6 separate regions of the Homo sapiens genome follow, and regions 1, 2, 3, 4 and 5 are each linked to region 6. The links are contacts of gene promoters, found by promoter capture Hi-C in blood cells and fetal thymus (Javierre and others, 2016). All regions are on one chromosome and are shown on one strand. Each heading gives the region's core, a stretch centred on a gene start or on the middle of the fragment in contact. The rest is flanking DNA. Distances are from core to core; before and after follow the strand shown.

Region 1 (2,743 bases), core at 240-2,739, 190 kb before region 6:
GTCCTTGAGGAAAGCAAACATTGGAATGTATACACAGAATACAATGCTATTATGATTTATTCATGCCCACATGGAGGCTCCCCTGCTGGAGGAATACACAGAGAAAGTAATTAAAGCACACGGAGTGCTGAACAGAAGCCACAGAACAAGACAGCCACAGCTTTGGAAAGCTGCCTAACAATTCTTTCTTTGTAACATATTAACAGATGTTAAAGTCTGGTCTTTCTTTGTGCATCTCCACAACAGAACACAGTGAAGCATCATTCACTTATAAGTGTGCAAGCAATGTTTACCCAAGTGAATTTTATAATTCAATATTTAAAAAGTATTTTCCAGGTCCTGCTGACTTCCATTCTACATTTAAAGTAATTGCCTTGGTACTACTTGAATCTCAGAGAGTTGTTGCTGCATACCCCCATGTGACCACCATCCAAAACAGGAGAAAGAACATTTCTATCTAGAAAGTACCCCACTGACCCTTTTCCTTGGCAATTCTGCAGCAAACTCTGTCCCCAACCTAAGCAAACACTTTCTGACTTCTATCACCATAGAATGGTTCTGCCTGTTCTTAGACTTCTTATGCACAGACTTATATGATACTATTTTGTGTCAAGTTTCTTTGGTTTCAAAGGTTTTAAAAACTCACCAATGCTGTGGCTTGTTTTAATATTCATTTTTGTTGCTGAGTAGTATTCCATTATATGAATAGAATATTTTCCTATTGGTGGACATTTGGAATGCTTCCAGTTATCAGCTTTTATGAATAAATCTGCTTATGAACATTCTTGTACAAGTGAGTACAAGTAGTTGTACTGCTTGAGTAGAGCCACTGGATCATGGGGTAGATTATGTTAGTAACTTCATTTAAAAACTGACAAACAGTTTTACAGAGTGATTGTGTGATTTTACCCTTCCACCAACAATTTATGTGGGAGTTCTAATTACTCTACATCATTTTTTAACATTGGGTGTTATCACTGTTAAGATTTTAGTCATACCAATGAGTGTAAAATAGTGTCTTGTGGTTCTAGTTTTAATTTCCCGATTATTAATGATATTGAACACTTTTGAATCAATGGGTTATTGGACATTTCTACATCTTCCTTCATGTAATGTCTGTTCTATCCTTGCCATAATTTTTATTGAACTGCTTTTCTTATTGTTGATTTAGAAGAGCTCTTTATACTCCTGATATAAGTCTTTTTCTGATATATGTTAATTAACACATTTTCTCAATCTGGGACTATTAGTACACCTATTAATACATTTTTCTCAATCTGGGACTTGCCTATTCATATTCTTAGTGGTATCTTTGGATGAGCATGCTATTATTATTACATTATATTTATAAAAAGAATTTTTACATATATTATTAGACCACTAGCTTGACTAATAAAGAAGAGAGAATATTTGATAAACACAATCAGAAACAATAAGGGGGATATTACTACTGACCCCATAGAAATATAAACAAGTATCAAAGAATATTATGAATACCTCTATGCATATAAACTAGAAAAACTAGAAGAAATGGGTATATTCCTGGACACATACAGCCTCCCAGACTAAACCAGGAAGAAACTGAATCCCCGAACAGACCAATAACCAGTTCTGAAATTGAAGCAGTAATAAAAAGCCTACCAACCACAAAAATCCCAGGAATCGGAGGGATTCACAGCTGAATTCTACCACATGTACAAATAAGATCTGGTACCATTCCTACTGAAACTATTCCAAAAAATTGAGGAGGGACTCCTTCCTAACTCATTCTATGAAGTCAGCATCATCCTGATACCAAAACCTGACAGAGATACAACAAAAAAGAAAACCTCAGTCCAATATCCTTGATGAAACATCAGTGCAAAAATCCTCAACAAAATAGTGGCAAATTGAATTCACCAGCACACCAAAAGGCTTATCCACCACGATCATGGAACAGTATGCATCCATAAAAAAGAATGAGATCATGTCCTTTGCAAGAACATGGATAGAACTGGAGGCCATTATCGTTGGCAAACTAGCATGGAATAGAAAAACAAATAACGCATGTTCTTACTTACAAGTGGGAGCTAAATGATGAGAACACATGGACACATAGAGGGGAACAACACCCACTGGGGCCTTTTGGTTGGTGGAGCGTAGAGGATTAGAAAAAACAACTAATAAGCACTAGGCTTAATACCTAAGTGATGAAATAATGTGTAAAACCAATCCCCATGACTCAAGTTTACCTATCTAACAAATTTTCACTTGCACTCCTGAACTTAAAAACCAAAAAAAAATTTCAACAAATTAAAGAAAAATGCTGTTAACCTGTCGCAGTCTTATAAAAACCAAATCCCTGGAGGTGGGGCCTGTGCACATTTGTTTTACTTTTTTTATCCTAATGCTTTTTAAAAATTGCAGTGTATATATAATACACATATAAAAAGTACACAAATCATACATATTAGCTCCGTGAATTTTAATAAAGTGAACATACTGGTGTAACCTGCACCCAGAGAATATAAAAAAAATCATATATTATTTTTTAAGCATTAAAACAACCTGACATGCAGAACTCATACTATCTTAAATTACAGATTTGGATACTGAGGTTGAGAGGTTAAGTTACTTATTCATGTAACCAGCTCTTCACAGAGATGAGATTTTCTGATGTTAAGTTCAATATTTTTATAGCTACATCATTTATCTACTCCCTCTTTTATATCTCTAATTCTCTTATCCACTCCACAATTATTTA
Region 2 (3,124 bases), core at 535-3,034, 150 kb before region 6:
TGTATTTGAAAATGACATTTCTGATTTTTATTTCTCATGAAATTATAAAAATCTTTCCAAAGCTATGAACTATCCTGGAACTATGAACTGTACAGTACCCCTTCGATCCAGGTAAAGGGTACTTTCAAATCTTTTGAAAAGTTGAGAGTGCAATGGAAGAAGTCAAGCCCAGGTCTTAATAACTACAATCTGGATTTAGAGGATGATAGACCTCCTGCTTTTGTCATGAACAGAAATTTGTTGGTTTATGGAGAGAAGGATGAGAAGGACTTACCCTCCACTCACCTGACTCCAAGAAGGCAAATATCTGGAGAAACCAGAGACAGAAACCCCCAAAGATCTAAACTCTCTGTAGAGAGCATGCAGTGACAGTTTAGCCTATGCTACCTGAAGTGGAAATAGATCATTCTTTAAATAAATCACTTGTGCTGACTTGGTAACTCAAGGAGACCACACTTATTATTTCCTCTCAATTCGCAACTATCTTTGGAAACAAGACGATTTTATTTCTTGCTTAGCCTTACCTCTTCTATTCACAGAAAATCAGCAGCACGCTAATGATGTCTTAAAAGTACAAAGTCACTTGTAAAGGACATTAGGATCCCTGGCTAGGTAAGAAACTCTGTATGACACAGTTTTCAAGTGCACACCTATTCAAAATTGCAAGTGATATCTCTTTTGTACTGATTTAGCCTGTACCTGAAAGCAATAGCCATACACATGAGTATACTGAATTAAGTGCACTAGTAGATGACTCTCTATAAGAAAGAGGGGGAAACACCCAAATTACATTCAAAGACATTACTGGAAATTAATTATGTATAATTCCCAGTATAATGCAAACATTTATCCTCGCGTTATCCAGTTTCTAACTGTAGGAGAAATTGCATTTATTCCTTAAAATTTAACACTACTACGCTTAAAACAAAAAGTCATGCTAGTATGCATATTTCCACAAATCTTATAAAATAGATGATATTTTCAAAATAAAGCTAAATAAATTGAAAGTAAAACTCAGGAATGATTTCAGGCCATATAGAAAATACAATGAGCAATTCAACGAAACATATAAGTTAACAGTCCTCCTAGAAGAACAGATCATATGTCATATAAATATAGGTGGTACACGGCTATAAGGCATTCTCTACCTCAGGTATACAGTACATCAAAAGAGTTTTATGAATTCACTTAGACAGTACTAGTTTATTCTTTTCAGGCCCAACATGGCCACTTTTGAAGGGTCCAGCTAAACTATACTGTTGGCAAAAGCAAAGGAGTTAAAGGTTACTTGACCCAGTATTCAAAGCCTTCTCCAAATAAATTCTCCAAGAACTCACATGCAAGTGAAAGGTGAACACTCCTACCCCTGCTGACTACCTTGTTCTGGTAGACTGACAACAGTGAAGACTTGTTTGTCACTCAATTTGACAACTTTAGCAAATATATATTTGTCGCTGTTGTTGTTGTTGTTTAACACGCAGGGTCTCAGCCCTGTCACCCAGGCTGGAGTACAGTGGCACCATCACAACTCACTGAAGCTTGGAATTCCTGGGCTCATGTGATCCTCCCACCTCAGTCTTCAGAATAGCTGAGCCTACAGGAGCACATCATGCCTGAGCTAACACTTCTATTTTTTGTGGAGACAAGGTCTCACTATATTGCCCAGGCTGGTCTCAAACTCCCGGCCTCAAGCTATCCTCCTGCCTTGGCCTCCCAAAATGCTGGGATTATAGGCGTGAGCCACTGTGCCCAGTCTTGCCATGTACTACTGATAACCAATTTTATAATAAAGACAAATTATAAGTCTATAAAGTAGAGATACTCTAAACAGCTTCATACATTTCAATACAATTTCTTAAAACAAAAATGAGGGGTGCAAGGTAACTGAGCTTAAAGCAATGTATTTAGCTCTGTGTTTTATATCTTAGAAAATTATACACTTAATTCTTCTTGTGATTACAGTGAACCCTACTGATTTGAGAAACATTAGAAGGCAAATGAAAGACTTCTGAAAGGTAGTTATATCGTGAGAAGCTTTATTTTCATTATAATACTACTTTTGCTGACACTAACTAGGGTCATTCTTGGGATAATTTTCAAACTGTGCATGTTTTGTGACATCATTTGAAAATTAATCTCTTTAAATATATCACTTGTTTTAGATTAAACAAATACTTTCAATGAGGAAAATTACTTCTCAATAGAGGAATGCCATGTGACTAGATTCAAAAGCCATTTTCCAAATCTTGAAAGAGATTAAATATATGAGACAAACACATTATAATTATGGAATAATTCAAAAGTAAGTTTTAAAACCTAGAACAAGAGAGAAATAAAAATTATCATTTGGAAAATATTATAGATATATGAGAAATGCTTATGATTTATTAATAAAAATAAAAATGTCATATACATAAATTATAAAAGTGAAGAAAAGGACTATAATATGGAAAAATAAAAGTAGCTTCAGTAAAAAGGTGGAATGAAAGGCAATGCTTATATTTAAGTCTTTGTTATTGTAATGTTTCAATAAAAGGACTTGTTTTAAATCATCGGAGGTTAAAAACACGTTTTACTAAAATTAATTTGACCCATGAGGGATTTAATAAACTCCTTTTCTAGGGTCATCTCTTAATTAGCTTTTCTTACAGTGTATAACAAAACTCTATTTCATTAGATGGAATCTAGAATAAATGAAGCAAAAGTTAAAAAAATTGTTATATACACTAAAGATGTAGAACACATAATAGAAGAAACACAAAAGAGTCATGGGTGAAAATCTTGCAAAATGTATCCTGTAGTAAATGCTTCATTTTATTTTTAATGAGAAATTAGTAGCACACATGGACTTGACTGTAACATTCCAAAGTTGAAGCAAAGTATGCACTAAGAAATCCATTGAAAACTAAGTATATACCAAACGATTTAGTGAATATTTTGAATTTCTCTTGAGGTAGAGAGAAACAGCTATTGATATTTATATAATTTCTGTTATCAGCCATTATGTACATTGTTTCTTTCAATTAAAATTTCAGCTTATCAAAGATGTTTAAAGTCTAAGTATTAAAAGGCAAGCATGTATTATGGTCTATATTATACACACACACACACACACACACACACA
Region 3 (2,937 bases), core at 76-2,575, 140 kb before region 6:
CTCTCTGAGGAAACAAGCAGCTACTTCTCCCTGACAAATTCCCCTAACCCAAAATGATGTATAGTCATCAAAGCTCCAACACAGGACTTCTTCCTTTTTATTTCCACAGAATCACCCTAAGTAATTTCACTTTCTTCCTTCTTTACGCTGGCAACTCCAAAATCTGTATCTCCAATCTGTTAATCTTTTCATGAATATCTTATCCATAAAAAATAACTTTCTCCCATCAATTTATTCTTAGATTTCTTATAAGAATCTCATGCTCAACATGTCTTAAACTCATTATCTCCCAGGCTCTCTCCCAAACCTGCTCCTTTTTCCACTATTTCCTATATGATGTCTATGTAGTCACAGAATACACAAACATATGTTTATGTGTCTATGTAAATAAGTAGATATGAGACTCTGTTTTGCACCATACAGGGTGCTGTGCCTGTCACGTATGTATAGTCTTTGTTCTTGTTCTATCAGGGTTCATAACCTCACATTCTTGGCATCTATTGTGCAGATTCTTTACTTTTATGCACACGGTGGACCTCCCTTCTCTCTACTCCATTTTCAATTAGGTAGGAATTCTATGGACACGTTTTCTAATAATTTTATAAAAATGTTTTCTAGTAAACATTTTTATTTTTCTAATAAATGCTTCAATTTTGAATTCTAGTAACTTATAGTGTCTATCCAGACTCCTAGAACACTTGTTGCTTTATATCCTGAGAAAGATCTCTACAAAGGTATTGGTAAATTAATACTGAACACTTGATTTTTAAAAAAAAATTTAAGTTACAAATTGACCTTACTTTAACTTCAAAATGAATTATTTTCCTCAATACCATATAGGCAAAAGAAGGCTGTTTAAGTACTTAAAATGGGGCTTGGCACATGGTAACTGCCCCCATTGTCATCATTGTTATTATCAGATGATTATTGATTTGGAGTAAAAAGGAAAAGCAAGTAAACCAAAGACAGAAGCATGTGATAATATAATTGCGTTTAAATGGTGGGGATGGTACATTAGCTATACGAAGAGATTTACAGAAAGTAACTTGGTTATATTTATCCTCACATTTCTCCCACTCCTATTATTACTCTTCACTTTCATAAAAATACTTTGAACATAACTTGTTAGTAACACATGTAGACGAAAACTTTCAATTACCAAAAATGTTATTAACTGTCTGTGACCATTATTTTGGAATTTCATTAGTTTTCTACTTTTCCATGAACTCAAAAATAATATTACAAATGAATTTCATCTCCTGATTTCTGCAGTCCAGCGGTAAGATCAAAATGTACAAAATAATAAAACATTTAGTGCTCTGGCTTCCATATCTTCCATATATGAGGGGCTGGACTGCATGCAGTAAGCACTAAATAGAATTACATTAAACTGAATCATTCTAATCCATGTTTGCTACATTTTAATTAAAACCTATGTATCATTGGCCAAATACTCCATAGGTTAAAAAAAAGGGTACAAAAATACGTTGGTTATAATAACCTGAAAAAATGAAAAGGATAAACACATTTGTTAAGCTGATACTTGTCTATTTGTTTAAGAACATAAGCTCTGAGGGGTCAGACACCAAGTTTGAATTGTTTACCTTTTTTATTTTCCTGCCATGGAAGTAGCAGTTAGTAGGCATTCCATAAATATTAATAAATGATTGTAAAACTGCATTTATGCTAGTATTTTAATGTCAAATCCTATCTATACCTAATAATTCCTCATTATTTCTGGACATAAAATTAACAATACTCTCACGGTATAGTGAAATCATCATCTAGTAACAAAAATAAGAATCTAAAGTATCATTAACCATAATAATCTAAGAAATAAGTAAAAATGCAAAGTCCTAATTACGCCTAGAAGCTAAAAAACACAATCTGACATAAATATCTAATCAGCAATATGCTCGCTGTATAAAGCTCTTGATGTCGTCCCATGAAGTTGAAGGAAAGGCAGGTTCAGATAACCACTGAAAGTCATTATCCTTGTCACAGCAATAAAAATAATCAAATGAAGGCTTATTTAGCTATATTTTTATATCGCAGTTAAACATTGAACAAGATAAGATTGAACTGCACAGATCCCTTTATACACAGATTTTTCTTTTGCCTCTGCCACCCCTGAGACAGCATGATCAACCTCTCCTCCTCCTCAACCTACATATATAAAGACGACACAGATGAATACCTTCATGATGATCTACTTCCACTTAATGAATAGTAAATATGTTTTCCCTTATGATTTTAATAGCATTTTCTTTTCTCTAGCTTACTTTATTGTAAGAATACAAATAATCTTGCACTATTATACAGCAAACCATACTGAACCAGTGTAATTAAGAGTTTTTTTAAGCAAATTACAAGAAGCCAAGGGGAAAAAAACCAATTTGTTGAAGAAGAAAGGCAGTTTGAAGATTTCCCAAAGAACTAAAAATAGAACTACCATTTGATCCAGCAATCCCACTACTAGGTATCTATCCAAAGGAAAAAAAAATGGTTCTACCAAAAAGACACCTGAACTCATATGTTTATCACAGCACTATTCACAAGAGTAAAGACGTGGAATCAACTCAAGTGCCGATCAGTGGTTGACGGGCTAAGGAAAATGTCGTCATATATACCATGGAATACTACACAACCATAAATAGGAATGAAGTCAAGTCCTTTGCAGCAACATGGATGCAGCTGAAGGTCCTTATCCTAAGTGAATTAACACAGAAACAGAAAATCAAATACTGCATGTACTCACTTATAAGTGGGAGTTAAACAATGAGTTACATGGAAATAGAGATGGAAATAATAGACACTGAGGACTCCAAAAGTGGGGACCAAAGGGGGCAAGGGCTGAAAAACTACCTATTGGGTGCTACGGTCACTATTTGGGTGATGGGCTCAATAGAATCCCAAACCCTAGCACTACACAATATA
Region 4 (2,979 bases), core at 170-2,669, 210 kb before region 6:
TTATTATACTTTAAGTTTTAGGGTACATGTGCACATTGTGCAGGTTAGTTACATATGTATACATGTGCCATGCTGGTGCGCTGCACCCACTAACTCGTCATCTAGCATTAGGTATATCTCCCAATGCTATCCCTCCCCGCTCCCCCCACCCCAACACAGTCCCCAGAGTGTGATATTCCCCTTCCTGTGTCCATGTGATCTCATTGTTCAATTCCCACCTATGAGTGAGAATATGCGGTGTTTGGTTTTTTGTTCTTGAAATACTTAATATTTTAACTCACTTTTCATTTTTAAAACAAAGGGTCAAAAATGGTTAGTTATTTTGTAAATATATTTTTTAAAATTTTTATATGAATCTAATATTATGGCAGATATTTTCATGGTTTATATGAATTTTTTTAAAAAAATTTCTATTATTGCCTTATAAAGTAAGTTTCATTATGTTTTTCCAAAATTAAACATTTAAAAAATGTCTTTGCCAAATTTATCAAATCACCAAACTACCTTATATTTACTAATCTTACAAAGAGCTTGGTTTATTTTAAAGACTCAGAAATTTTCCAGTAATTGAAAATGCATGTAATTCTTTTAAAAGCTTGTAAACACTTTATAGTTTCAGTTCTTCAGTTTTCCTATCTTAAATATGTTAAAAATTGTCTCTGAAATTGTGGATTTGGGATAAGGCTAAGAAATTATTATACAGTCAATCATCATCTATATTAGATACTGGTTAATGTATTTTGATCCCAATAATTTATTTTGCTTTGCCGATAATTGATCTGAAGGCAATGTCAAAAGGTTCTACAGTCACTGTAGGGCGTATCTCTCCCTATGTTAGTTTCATCTGTTCAGCCTGTGTTCCCTGTCCTGGGTTCCTGGGAAATGTAACTCTTAGAATTTTAAGATACTTGATTAGATAAGGAACTCTGCAGAGCGGTTTATTACCTAAAAAAAAACAAAAAAAAAACCCCAAAAAAAACAAAAAAAAAAACTAGGTACAGAATGGAAGAAATGACAAGGTCATGATTTCTTGGAGACATATTCCTTACTTTGATTACATCAGGGCAGAATGACTAAGCAGTAAACAAAGGACCATTATTTTTGAAGCTTTTCTCTTTTAGAGAAGGAATATTACAGTGGGATAAATGTTCAAGAAAGGATATGCACAAAAAGCTTAAAAATCTGATCACTAGGTTAAAATGGCTTTCGTCTTTCAAAAGTTATTTCTGTTTGGAGAGCAAAAGATTTGAACAGCTTAATTCCAAATTTAGGCTCAAGGAAGATATAAGAACACCTTCTAACTGCTTTTCTTTTTGCTTTCAGAGACTCAATTAAGACACTGAAATATGTGTTGGTCCCAAAATGGCTAATGAGTTTTGAGAGTAAACAGCCTATGTTCTTTGCTGAAGAGGCCAAACTTCATGTCAAGATTGATGCCGCTTATGATCTCCCAACCCTCAAGGTGAGAAGGAAAACAAACAGTAGCTTTCATGAAAGATGCCAAATCTTCTTTCTTGATTCTCAGGGGTCATCTTGTAGGTCCTTAAATTAACTGAGAGACCCCATCAGTTCCCAAAGCACTGGAATGTGATTATATTACTAGAAAGTTTAGTTACCAGGGCTCCAGACATATTCTGCTATGGGCTTACTCTGAAGGTGTTTTAAGTAAGCTTGTAAAACGAATTTGAAGTTGTGATTTTACCACCAGAATTTCTATACGCATATTTTAAATTGGCTACTTTAGAGGTAAGAAAATAAGTAGTATTGTGCATATGTGATTGGGTGGTCAATGATATTAAAATAAAAGGTATAAGGTTATTCATACTGTTTTCTTGCTGTATGTGATTATTACCATGCTTTACAAAGTGATTATTATTGTGCTTTTGAAGCCAATGAAGTAATTAATGACCTAATCACATTATGACACAGGAAAATATATTCTATAATTGAATATAAAACAAACAAAATCCTAACCTACCTCAATATTTTTCCGGGCCAAGGTTGCATTCCCCTCATGCTGTATAGGAATCAGAGGCAAACCTCCAATTTTGGGATTTTTGGTTATTGAACGTTTTCGTTCCTTTCCAGCTGGTGGCCATATATCATATTCATGCTGTGGAAACACAATTTCTTGCTGTTGGTGTGTGATTTTATTATGTGGTATACTATGTCATAAAGCCACTTGGTTTCTTTCCCACATATCCACATCAAATGATCTGATTTCCATGAGAATTCCATTTGTGATTATGATGTTGACTCTGGTGGCAGCATCGCTCCAGGACATGAAACTCTTAACTGAACTGAGCTTTGAGGTCTCAGCTCAATTTCTAAGTTTCAAATACATGCCTTCTATACTACTTATCAAACCAAAAGGGGAAAAGTATTTGAGGCAACTGGCAAATCTCTTTGTGGAAGAAAAATAGTACACTTGTCTACATTGCTAGGCACTGTAATCTAAGTAACTATACATTTACACCAAATATGATTTCAGTGTAAAAATAATTTCATCTTATATATCCCAAATCAACCTAAGGCATGACTATCAGAAAAATTAGCCTAACTTTATGACCTCTTGAAAAATGTTACTATTTTATCTAATTGAATTCCAAAGAAATATAATCTTTTTACTCAGACATTTCAACATCTTTACTGAAAATCATTGTACAACGGAGAGTGGGGCACATTTGTTCTCAAATCATTGACTATATATTCTTGCCTTCTAAATAATTATACATATGACTGGAGAAAGGTTAATTTGGATGGGGATAAATGTTCACAGGTAAAAATATAAGCTCTGGAGTGATTCATCTCTGATATATACATATAAAAAATTCTTTAAAGAATTTTGTACTCCCCAGGGTAGATTAACTTTCCAGAATTTGGAAAAAGTATATTGATTTTCAAACAACAATCTATGACGTAAACACAGAATACCGAGTATAAAATGAAAAGTTTACAGATATTGTAATGAAATGAAAA
Region 5 (3,127 bases), core at 141-2,640, 170 kb before region 6:
CTTGATGCTTTTATAACAGAAGGACACACTCATAACTCCATCTAGAAGATGTAATGGGATAGGTGGAACATCACGAAAACACCAAATCTTCCTACCCAGTTTGTGGTTACAGCCAACGTACCAGCTGTCACTGTACCATTTCTTCTTGCCCTTACACAACAAAGGTTTTACCCAGATATGACTGCTCTAAACCAGCGCAATCTACACCTTGTTGGGTTGTTTGCCACCCACCCCCAGCCATGCCCCGAAGATTAATAGCATTTAATGGTGAACTTGTTTTGGGTTACCCGCACCCTCAGACATACAGAACCTTCACTTATAACATAGCCTTTTAGGATCTAATTCTTATCCATTTTTATTCATATAGCCAACCTACTAGCATTCACACAACAGCAAAGGTATTATGTCTAGGTGTAGGTTTTAAACATGTTGCAACATGGAGAATTAGAGATATTGCAGAGGAATATCAGAAGAAAAGAAACAAATAAAAATTTCAACAGAAAGATAAAGAATTAGAACAGATATCACAGATTATCTAAATTAGGGTTTCTCAACATCAGCAGTGACCCTTGGTCTGTACCCACTAAATACCAGAAGCCCTGCCTCCCTACCCAATCTCCAAGTTGTGACAGTCAGAAATGTCTTAAGACATTGTATGTTCCATGTCTTGTGGGCGGGGAGGGGAGGGAGGGGAAATCATTCCTAGCTGAAAGCCACTACTTTATGACATGTGCATTCATACATGTGCATTCACATCAGTACAGAGAAATCCTATTGCAAACATTAAGAAGGCACAGGCAGTATATGGTCAGAATCATATGTAAGAGCATGAAAAAATTTCAAACAGGATAAAGGTCTCGGAAAGGCTACATTTCTACAGTATAAAGAGTTAGTATCTGTTTTGGCTTTTTAGATGCTTATAAGAACACAATGACATAAAAGTTGTTATACTACTTGCATTTTGTAAAAGTACTTTCACGTAAGTAAAAGTATGTAAGATATAAAAGACAGTGTATTAAATCAGAAGTTTATATGATAAGCTTTGGTACAATTAAGAGCTCTGAATTATGACTATTAACTAGAGAATCTGCAATGATACTGAGTAGTTTACAGCACTGAAGAGCTGTACCATCCTCCCCACCTTTTTTCACATGATTAAAATTAGGAGGAACACCAATCAGTTCTTCAATTCAATACTTAGTAACTGAATAATATAAGGCAAATTACTTAAGTTCTCTGAGTTTCTCTTCCCTTCATTTGTAAAATTCAAAAGGTAATATAACTTACAAGGAAGTTAAAAAAAACTTTAAATGAGCTTTGGTGTGTGTTGAGCTCTGCTGGTATGCAATTAAGAAATAATAATGGTTATTATTTATATTAATCATAAAAGTAATCATAAATTTCAATCCTTAGCTTATTGAGTTGGATTGTATATAATCCTGGCTTTTTTTTGATCTTTCAGTTGATAACAACACAACAGAAGAATAATTAAGTTTCAAAATAAAAATTTTCTGAGATCTCATAGAGGTTCAGAAATGGTCTTATATAGTTCACTGTGCTAGCTAACTTACTTAATTAACCGTACATGAGCACTATCTCCTTCCAGTTGGATGGGAAGCATTCTTACTGGAAGTATTTTATTTTGTAAGTATTTATTTTCCAACTTCATCACAAAAATGTGAGATATATAGCAAGCACTCTATCTCAGAGCCTATATAATTAGCATTCCTTTAATGCCTAGAAAGCTTTCTAATGTAAATGTAATTCACAGAGATGACTTGCCCTCAGTCTAAAAATTGAGGAAAATACATAAGCATAAGCATGGTAAACAACCTTTAAAAACAAACTATTATTTCCAAAAACCTGAACTTGGTACAATCAAATTAGCCAACTATTACCACAGAGCAACACATTGGGAAAATATCTTCCTGTCCATATATTCTTCTTTCTTATATATGTACTATCTCAGTTCATTCTGTATCTAGCTACTCGTTTTTCACATTTTCAAATATTACTTGTGCCATATTAATTACCCTTTAACCACTTGAATTTTCAATCATAGCTGCAATGTGAAGTAATGACACCTACCACTGCAGTGTTTAATTGTGTCAGCGGTTAAGAATCTCTTCACCACCAGGTAAGCAGAGCCAGGTTCAGCTAATGAACTCCACCGAAGCACCTGCTCCAGTACATTTTCCTTGTAGTGAAGAGGACGCTCTGTAAAAAATAAATTCCAAATCAAATGGAAAATATATGAGGATAACAATTTTTTATTTTATAATCATAAATTTTAAAAAATCCATTTGAAAACATCTGTAGGCAACATTATACACAATCATATCTTATGTTATATTATACAGTAATAGCACTATGACTATGTAAAAGATATCCTAAGACCTAGAAAATTATTAAGCACATAATAACATTTACTATATAAATTAATCATGCAGGAATACCTGTTACTGAACTATTTTTAAAAATCAGAAGTACTTTTGATAAAAATCTCAGAATTCTACCTTTTGTATAATAAATTCTACCCCTTGTACAATACATTATTATTATTATTATTATTTTGAGACAGGGTTTCACCCTGTCACCTAGGCTGGAGTGCAGTGATGCAATCCTAGCTCACTGTAGCCTCAAACTTCTGAGCTCAGGCTACCCTCCCACCACTGCCTCCCAAAGTGGTGGGATGAACAGGCATGAACCACCATCCCCATCCTCTAACCTCTTTTGTAGATAACATACTGGTTTGTTTAGGGAAACCTTCTTATTTTTATATGCAATTAAATGGTTTTAAAAGGACTAACAAACTTAATATTGTCCGTTACTAAATAATAATCATAAATTAATCATAATCCTTTGTTTATCCCAACAAGATCAAACTCATAATTTTGGATCAACACTAGTAAATACCTCATAGCTAATATTTTCATAATCAATACAAAATTATAAAATGTAACTTCTATAGAAAACACTAAAATCATTTACAAAATAGTACTGAAGAGTCTATATTTAACTACTAGTGGGAATATAAAAAACATGATGTGTCAATATTATAGACTAACTATTGACATAATAGGCCAACTAGCAAGAAATTACATGACATCTTCAATATATCTCTCTG
Region 6 (2,820 bases), core at 313-2,812:
AGGCCTCTAAGCAGAATTATTTTTTTAACTCCTCAAAGCTTTTATGATACTTTTTCTTTATACTTCTGCTCTAGCTCTCAACACAGACTAAGCTTTATTTCAATAATCTGTTCATGCATCTGTCTCTTGAAATCCTAAAAAGGCCTGACCTCCAGCACTTAGTTCCTGTCCCACAGTAAATGCTATAGGAAGTTTTCAAAATTAGCATTGAATTAAAGCCATGTGTACATTATTATTGAGAATGACACATCCATTTAAGGAGTAAGAAAAGAAAATAGAATTGAATGAGTGAGTCTTTAGTTTGAGAAGATTTAAATGATCCAATCCATGAAGTGATATGAACTCATACTGCGAAAAAGGTCCCCTTTTCAGTGAACAGAAGTTAACTGAAAAATAAGACACTTAGTGGTGAAGGAGCCCCTCTCCACTCTGCAGCCACCAGTACTCAATACTGCTCCTTTCCTTCAGGGTCTTTGACAGTCTTTAGGGCAGTGGCAGTCATTCTTCATTATTTATTCTCTGGGCTTGTTTTTCCCATCTTGTCTTCCAGGTGCCCTGAGTGTAGCTCTTAGAACTCCAGGGCTTAAGATGAGATAATGTGTTGCCTGTGGGAGGGAAGCACTCCGGCTTCCACTTGAAAAGCTTTCATTTTGTTCCAGTACCCGAGGGAACATGAGCCTCTCTGGAATGTACTTGCTGCCCTCTTCCTTTGGCTTAGGTGTGTGTTCTCTCTGAGCAGTGGGATTGGAGAGAGGGAGGCAGACTGTTCTGGTTTCCTCCAAATACCCGCAAGTGCTGCATTGCATAGCCCCATATATGATGCGCTGGCAGGCAGATGGGCAGCAGTGGGGAGAGCTTGTTGTATCTGAATTTTAATTACATATGGTAAAGAATCCTTGCTAGTTTAGAGAAAGCTACTCTTCAGGTTTACTTTCTTTCAGTGAAGGGGCATTTTATCCAATTAGAGGGAAATTATCAGAGGCCAAGTTCTTATCTCAGTCTCTGCAGATTTACCACATAAGAAGATGCTAATTATAACTTCCTAACCAATGCAATAGGCTCTGCTCCAGTAGAGGAATCTTTTTAAACTCTTGGTTATAAAAATACTATACATATACACATTAATTAGAGTGAATTGTCAAGACCCCATGTGTAAACATATCCAGCTTCAACATTTATTAATTCTTACAGCAAATTTTATACCTCTACCCACCCCTATGCTCCCTGATTATTTAGAAGCAAAATCAGACATCACATTATTTCATTCATAAATATTTTTAAGTTTACAGGAATCCTGCCAGCAATATTGTTCATACAGTTTACCTTTGATTAATAAACTTCTTACCCTACCTGGAATCTGTATTTTGTTGCCTCAAAACTTGAAAAGTATTTGGTACTTCCACAGTATATTGAATTTGTAAAACTTACACAGAGAGTTGGATCATGTGAGTCAGCTCTACCCCAGTGATTAATGTATTCTGTACACAGTAGCACCCATGGTACAGGAACGCCCCTTCTTCGGTCACCTAGTAACTTTTCACTAGTCAACACCAAACTGAATAACCACTATGTTGTGAGAAAGTGCTGGGCTAGCTGACTCGGATCATCTCCTAGAGTTTAGGAGAAATAACAATCACAAAGTTTGAATTTGCAAAACCTTTAGGCTTTGCTGGCAGGAGAGAAAATACCACTTTTGGATCATAAAATGGATATGGAATACATGGGCTCAGGTAAACTGGGCCAAATATTGAAGCAGATTTGGAGACAAAACCAGATGCTAAAGCAGGCACTCTTGGGTGATGACCTTTGTGAGGGGGCTGGTGGGGCCACTTGGATGGCCACTGTGGTCTTTCTGGGTCAGGAACTCAGCAGTGCCCTTCACCAGCTGCTGGAGCACACCTCAGGCACCCTGCGTTCCACCTGCCAGCAGCTGCATGTGCTGCTTGACAAAGAGAATCAATGTGTCTCGAGAAAAGGCAAGTATTCTTTTTTTTAGTTTATTCTTTCTCTAAGAAATATTGATTAGGGCAAGATCTGAGAGGGGCTATGAGTATACCAGATAGGCTAAGATAGAGTTTCTGTCCACAAGAGACTAACAATTTCAAAGGGGAAATAAGTTGAGACAAATGCACAATAATGCCAGGGACATTGGGGCCAGTCCCATTAGAAACACATGAATGAAGTGCTTTTGGACTTCAGAAGCAGTTTAAATCCCATCTGTAGGGTGGGGAATTGAGAAGTTTGCTAGAAAAATGTAGTATTTAAGCTGAAGCTTAAAGAGTGAATTGGATTTATGCAGCAGGAAAGAGAGAGTCGGTAATTTTAGTAGGATCCAAGACTTAGAGACAGGAAAATACAGGCCACTGAGGCAGAGCTAGTAGTTTGTTTTTTATATCAGAATATAGTATTCTATCTCTAGGGTCATTTGAGCTTAGCCTTATTGATTGCAAAATTACTGGGAAGACTGGAGTGGGTTGGGATAGGGAATTGGATCCCCATGCACTGGGGCTGGAGAGGGATTCTTGGGAATAGGTCCAGTTATGGATGTGGAAAAGTACAGTAAGGCAGGAAGAATGTGGAATCTGATGAATATAATCCTAGATAACAACAGTTACTCCAGATAAGCATATAGGTGGCATCATGAAATTCAACTCTAAATAATACAGTATCAAGATAAGTGGGCAGGTTCCATCTATGAGGAAATCCAGGGTAGATGATGTTAAGAAATTCAATCTAAAGGGCAAATAGTGGGCATCAGGGAAATCTGTCTAAAGGCAGCATGACTGAGAAGCCATCAGCTGCAGCCCACAATGAGACCTT

Evidence for each region. The method cuts DNA at HindIII sites, captures the fragments that hold promoters and counts their contacts. A CHiCAGO score of 5 or more calls a contact.
Region 1: a contact is called between a fragment that was not itself captured here and the fragment with the promoter of DTHD1 in region 6, in 2 of 17 cell types (naive CD8 T cells and total CD4 T cells). The highest score is 5.4, in naive CD8 T cells.
Region 2: a fragment that was not itself captured here is called in contact with the fragment with the promoter of DTHD1 in region 6 in 1 of 17 cell types (non-activated CD4 T cells); the score reaches 5.8 in non-activated CD4 T cells.
Region 3: a fragment that was not itself captured here is called in contact with the fragment with the promoter of DTHD1 in region 6 in 1 of 17 cell types (non-activated CD4 T cells); the score reaches 6.1 in non-activated CD4 T cells.
Region 4: a fragment that was not itself captured here is called in contact with the fragment with the promoter of DTHD1 in region 6 in 3 of 17 cell types (total CD8 T cells, activated CD4 T cells and total CD4 T cells); the score reaches 5.8 in total CD8 T cells.
Region 5: a fragment that was not itself captured here is called in contact with the fragment with the promoter of DTHD1 in region 6 in 4 of 17 cell types (activated CD4 T cells, total CD4 T cells, total CD8 T cells and 1 more); the score reaches 7.1 in activated CD4 T cells.

The regions. Positions count from the first base shown.
Region 1 is chr4:36,088,632-36,091,374 of GRCh38, forward strand. The region is part of intron 28 of ARAP2 (ArfGAP with RhoGAP domain, ankyrin repeat and PH domain 2); the gene reads right to left. Among named protein-coding and RNA genes, the nearest start is that of ARAP2, 150 kb to the right of the region's middle. The HindIII fragment of the contact is 8,569 bases long and covers 1-2,743 here.
Region 2 is chr4:36,125,381-36,128,504 of GRCh38, forward strand. All of the region lies in intron 21 of ARAP2 (ArfGAP with RhoGAP domain, ankyrin repeat and PH domain 2), which reads right to left. Among named protein-coding and RNA genes, the nearest start is that of ARAP2, 120 kb to the right of the region's middle. The HindIII fragment of the contact is 496 bases long and covers 1,537-2,032 here.
Region 3 is chr4:36,142,698-36,145,634 of GRCh38, forward strand. The region is part of intron 19 of ARAP2 (ArfGAP with RhoGAP domain, ankyrin repeat and PH domain 2); the gene reads right to left. Among named protein-coding and RNA genes, the nearest start is that of ARAP2, 100 kb to the right of the region's middle. The HindIII fragment of the contact is 4,528 bases long and covers 1-2,937 here.
Region 4 is chr4:36,071,711-36,074,689 of GRCh38, forward strand. It overlaps ARAP2 (ArfGAP with RhoGAP domain, ankyrin repeat and PH domain 2), which reads right to left. Exons shown (of 33, transcript NM_015230.4): 32 at 1,979-2,113. Among named protein-coding and RNA genes, the nearest start is that of ARAP2, 170 kb to the right of the region's middle. The HindIII fragment of the contact is 497 bases long and covers 1,172-1,668 here.
Region 5 is chr4:36,105,477-36,108,603 of GRCh38, forward strand. It overlaps ARAP2 (ArfGAP with RhoGAP domain, ankyrin repeat and PH domain 2), which reads right to left. Exons shown (of 33, transcript NM_015230.4): 27 at 2,089-2,217. Among named protein-coding and RNA genes, the nearest start is that of ARAP2, 140 kb to the right of the region's middle. The HindIII fragment of the contact is 705 bases long and covers 1,039-1,743 here.
Region 6 is chr4:36,280,054-36,282,873 of GRCh38, forward strand. DTHD1 (death domain containing 1) reads left to right here and starts at 1,563. Exons shown (of 10, transcript NM_001170700.3): 1 at 1,563-1,976. The coding sequence starts at 1,706. The HindIII fragment of the contact is 1,630 bases long and covers 641-2,270 here.